Regions from separate parts of the Homo sapiens genome. Here region 1 is linked to region 2. Evidence: promoter capture Hi-C in 16 types of primary human blood cells and fetal thymus (Javierre and others, 2016). All regions are on one chromosome and are shown on one strand. Each heading gives the region's core, a stretch centred on a gene start or on the middle of the fragment in contact. The rest is flanking DNA. Distances are from core to core; before and after follow the strand shown.

What was found. The method cuts DNA at HindIII sites, captures the fragments that hold promoters and counts their contacts. A CHiCAGO score of 5 or more calls a contact.
Region 1: a fragment that was not itself captured here is called in contact with the fragment with the promoter of ANTXR1 in region 2 in 8 of 17 cell types (naive CD8 T cells, fetal thymus, megakaryocytes and 5 more); the score reaches 7.1 in naive CD8 T cells.

Annotation. Positions count from the first base shown.
Region 1 is chr2:68,487,413-68,490,112 of GRCh38, forward strand. The region is part of intron 1 of APLF (aprataxin and PNKP like factor); the gene reads left to right. Among named protein-coding and RNA genes, the nearest start is that of APLF, 21 kb to the left of the region's middle. The HindIII fragment of the contact is 1,449 bases long and covers 605-2,053 here.
Region 2 is chr2:69,011,784-69,014,483 of GRCh38, forward strand. It overlaps ANTXR1 (ANTXR cell adhesion molecule 1), which reads left to right and starts at 1,396. Exons shown (of 18, transcript NM_032208.3): 1 at 1,396-1,868. The coding sequence starts at 1,717. The HindIII fragment of the contact is 7,309 bases long and covers 1-2,700 here.

The DNA.
Region 1 (2,700 bases), core at 79-2,578, 520 kb before region 2:
TTATTGGTTGTGTAACTGAGTAGTTGCTTAAACTCTCTGTACTTCCATTTTCTCACCTATGAAGTGAAGTATAATAATAGTATCTTCACAGATTTTGTGAAGACTGAAAAAGATGATACATGACAAGTCTAGAATGGTGCTTTGGTGTTGATAATTGATTGTTATTACAGTTGATGTATTAATAAATAATAAAAATGTGTTGGATATTCACTCTGTATAAGGAGCAGTGATAGGCTGTTAAATAAAGCAGATCATCAGATCTTTAGGATAATCTGTTTGTCACTTGCTCCCCACCCCTCTCCGTATATCAATCGTGACATTAAAATGTTTTAATGATAATTTATTAAACCTTTATGCTTCCCATTGAGAAAGTGCAAATGGTTATTTTATTGTGTATTCACTATTTAGGGTTTTACTTTAAAAGGAACACTATAAATGTCTGAGTGATGTTAATTTCAAAGATTGTTTATAGCATTCTTTTTGTATTCTATAAAGACACATAGCTTGTAATGAAATTACACTGTTGTGGAGTTATGTGTCCACTAGAGGTCACATTATACTTTTATATTACTTAAAATGTCTTTTATCTTCGTAGTGTCAGTGAAGCTTACTTCAAAGAAAGACAGAGATAGGAAAAGTTCATGTATTGCTTCCTGAAAAAATACAGTTTAAAAAAGGAAAGAAAGAAATTTAAGATGGACTGTTAAAGGAACCAGCTTTATATGCCATAGTTTTATATTTGATAGCTTATTACTCTGTTGGTTAGAAAATTGGTTCGTAGTATGGAAGTAACAATGAGATTTTGGTACCCAAGTCAGAAATAGGAACTGCTTACTCTCAGCCGCATTTTTTGAAATTACTTTTGAATGATTACATGTAGGTACAGTCATGTATAAATGTGTTCTACATTTATTATCTTTTTTTTTTTTTTTTTTTGAGGCAGGGTCTCACCGTGTCCCCCAGGCTGGCATGCAGTGGCACGATCATGGCTCATTGCAACCTTGACCTCCTGGGTTCAAGCAATCTTCATACCTCAGCCTCCCAAGTATTAATATTTGGGACTATAGGCACATGCCCTCTGTCCAGCTAATTTTTTACTTTATGTAGAGATGGGGGTCTCACTGTGTTGCCCAGGCTAGTCTTGAATTCCTGGGCTCAAGGAGTCTTCCCACTTCAGCCTCCCAAAGTGCTGGGATTGCAGCCACCACACCCTGCCTATTACCTATTTTTATTAAAAGGAGTGTGGATTTGGAGTGCTGCCTACTTGGAGAGTGACCTACCCAAGTTACCTAAATTCTCTGGACTTTCAATTTCTATGTAAAGTGTTAATAATAGCTATGGCAATGTTATGTTGAATCACAACATTTAAGTGAAAGTTCTGTGCAAATGATGCAATGAGTCATCAGATAACTGCTGTTGTTTTTAGCCTACTAAGGTACAATCTGATATACCTAATGCTAAATGACGAGTTATTGGGTACAGCACACCAGCATGGCACATGTATACATATGTAACTAACCTGCACATTGTGCACATGTACCCTAAAACTTAAAGTATAATAATAAAAAAAAAGGTACAATCTGGGAAAAAGAAAGGAATCTTTAAATTTTTAGCCTCTTTTTTTCTGAAACAATAGATTATTAGTTTGTACTTACTTCTTGGATAGCCATTGTGGCTAACAATAGATTGTGAAAAATTCATTCATGTGATACTCATTCCGATGCTTGATATTACTGTCTATATGTTACAGCCTTAAGTGTGGAACAGCTATCTGGTTAAAAAAATGAGTACTGACTCCTGGCAGTTTCACATTTTTTGTGGAACTAATAGGTTTAATTGAGTTTATGTGTTGGTATGGTCTATTTTTTACTGATAATTTTGGTCCTTATGCGGATAATGCCAACATTCAAGTGCTGAATATCAAGGTTACCAAGAGATGGGTCAGGTAGTTATGGTGTTATTGAAGTTGGTGCTTAACATGTTTTCATTATCTATCAATCAACCACAAATAAAAAAGGCAATCTTAACTATTGTATTTACAGTGAAAAGGGAAAGCTTTGATTGGCACTGTCAGCATTTAACATGCAAACAATTTTTGAACTTTGGTATGTGGAAATGATTGTGAGCCTAAGTAGAACACTGTTGGCTCAAAACAGGAAGCAAATAGATATTTTTAAAAAATGCTAATTTATTTCTTACTGAAAATGTTTGGTTTTCACTATTCCCCTTCTTGCCTTCCTGAACTCTTAACTGCTGCTGATGGCCCCAGAGTTTGCATGCAGTTCTGCCTGATCTGGGTCTCTTTGACCCCAAAGCCTATAGTCAGACCCTTTTACACTTACCAGATCCTCGAGCATGGGATCTCTTCCTTTTAAAACCTTTATCATCATGACATACTATATGTTTCTTGTATTTGAAATGTTTTCTGGTAAGTACATATTATATACAGACTTTTCGTATTTTATGAATTTTCTTGGTAAGAATCCCCAGTAGATGTCTGTCATGAATGGAAACTATCATGCAAGGTTTTGGGATCCGTTAGATTCTAGGCTTGAGGCTCTGTTGTTGACTCTTCCATGACTTTGGGCAGGTTTTTTTAATCTCATTATTTGTTAAATGAGGACAATCATTTCAATATACAGTTGTTGAATGAATGATATATTTCATATCTAGTCTACTGATTTCAGAAACATCGCCAAG
Region 2 (2,700 bases), core at 146-2,645:
GGTGTTGGCTGCCAGCAGGGGTCTCAGTTCCTTACCACACGGACCCCTCCTTGGGGCTGCTTGTGTGTTCTCACGACATGGCAGTGGGCTCTCCTACAGTGAGTGATCCAAGAGAGAAGGGAAAAACCACAACATCTCTCATGGCCTATCCTCAGAAGCCACACACCATCTTCTTAATTACTCACAGGTCAGTCTCACCCAAGGTGGAAGGGGTGTGAATTCCAGGAGGTGAGAAACACTGGGTTCATTTTGGAGGCAGGTCAGTGCTACGCATGACAAATCTTCAAGGCTGATTTGACAACATGATTATTGGTTAGTGGAGCATTCCAAGACACTAAGATTCCATGGTACACATGTTGGGGGAAACCACCATGGACTGTCACATTGGGGTATAAGGGTCTGGGAGGCACACAAGTGGAGGGGAATATGTGTGTCTGGAGGAAGAATCCTGGGAAAACAGTACATGCATATGCACTGAGGGCTCCCAGAGCGGAAGACAATAGGAAGCTAGAACTGGGGTACCACTCGGAACTGGGGCTCAGAGGCTGATTCTCCAATTTAGAGAGGCTAGCACGGAACTTCCCTGCCAATTCCAAACTGCTTGGAGCGTCTCTACTCTTGTAAGCTGTTTACTTCCTCCATCCTAAATCAAAGATAGAGAGAAAATGTCAAAGTTCACAGGCTGAAAAGAAGAACTATTATCATAGAATCCCTAAAAGATGGAGATGGTGGCCATCTAGAAGGCTCAGCTGTTCCATGCCGGGAGCAGCCCTAAGTACCACACTCTGTGGGGTTGTTTGTGATGGTTTCAGACCGGACCCCAACAGTCTCTTTTATGGTCCAGACAGACTAAGACCATGTAAGGTCACTCTGATGACTCATACCACAAAGGTCCCGTTTTTCCCCTACTTCATCTGCACAATGGTTTGTTTGCAAAGGTCCTAGCCTGGGGAGCCGGAGTCACCGTGGTTGGAGGAAACAAATTCTCATCCAATGTTTAGTGACCTTATCAAAAGATGCAGGATAGGGAAGGAAAAGAAGGAATAGAAGGACTACAGAGAATGGAGAGGCGGTCACGGAAAAAGAAAGGGAAAGTGCGTGGGAAGAAGGAAGGAGTAAGAAAACACGCACAGCTCACATGAGAATGGTAAGGACAAGGAAATTTATACGCGAAGCCTGGAAGCGCCCCCGCCCCCGACGCACTCCCGCGGGTCCCACGCGTGCTTTCGCCGCCTTTGTCCACAAGGTGGCAGCCTTTGAACTTTCTTCCCCGTAAGAACGCGAAAGGGGGGCAGAGAGGAAGGAGAGAAGGCAAAGCACTGCCCCCACCAAGAACAATTTGAAACCCCCCCCCCCCCCCATCATATTTAAAATCTGGGACAAAGAACCGTCGGGACGGAACTCCTTCCATTGCAAAAGCTCGGCGCGGCCTCGGGAGCTGCCCGGCGGCCCCGGACCGAGGCAGCCCTCCCCTTTAAAAGAAGCGGAGGACAGGATTGGGATCCTTGAAACCCGAAACCCAGAAACAGCATCGGAGCGGAAACCAGAGGGGAAACCTTGAACTCCTCCAGACAATTGCTTCCGGGGAGTTGCGAGGGAGCGAGGGGGAATAAAGGACCCGCGAGGAAGGGCCCGCGGATGGCGCGTCCCTGAGGGTCGTGGCGAGTTCGCGGAGCGTGGGAAGGAGCGGACCCTGCTCTCCCCGGGCTGCGGGCCATGGCCACGGCGGAGCGGAGAGCCCTCGGCATCGGCTTCCAGTGGCTCTCTTTGGCCACTCTGGTGCTCATCTGCGCCGGGCAAGGGGGACGCAGGGAGGATGGGGGTCCAGCCTGCTACGGCGGATTTGACCTGTACTTCATTTTGGACAAGTAAGTGCCGCGAGTTGTCCCCCCCACCCCAGGCTAAGCGGGCGAAAACGCTTTCGCCCCGGGCCGGGCTCGTTGGCAGGGTCGCCTGGGGACAGGAGCGCATCTCCAGGGCCACAGAGGGACCGCGCGGCAGGCGGCGGCGGAGTGCTGCGCCTTTGTTGGGGCGCGCTCCTCCCAGCCTCGGCTCCAGAGCCCGCAGCCGAGGCGACGCCGCTTGCTCGGAAGGGGACAGACTTCTTTTCTGTCTTGCTTTCTGTGTCCCAGGAGCAGGCAAGGGGCTTGGAGGATGCTATTGTCTTGCTGAGTTTCTGTGACTCCCTCCCGTGTTGGTGGGAAAGGCTTGCTTACCAAAGGCAGAACTTGCAGGCACAGGCACTCCTAAAGTTAGAGGCTTGGGCATTTTAAAGCCAATCGTCGCATTTTGTTTTTGTTTTTGTTTTTTTGTTTTGTTTTGAAACGCTGTCCCACGGAAGGCATTATCTTTGCTCCTAATCATGTAATGCATACTTCTCACCGGGCACTGAGTGAGAATGAAAGGCAGGGTTTCTTAACCTTGGCACTTCTGAGATTGAAACCTGGTAATTCTTTGTGGTGGGGGCTGTCCTGCGCGTTGTAGGATGTTTAGCAGCATCCTTGGCCTCTGCCCACTGGATGCCAGTAACATCCCCCGCCCCCCACTCCTTCCTTATTAGTGGTGACAACTAAAAATGCCTCCAGACATTGCCAAATGTCCCTCCCCTTCGACTTGAGTACCCCAGATGTAGTGAATTCAAGCTCTTGGCCATTTGACTGGTGGGCTACCAGGGAGGTGCAGGAGCCCTGGTTTCCTTGC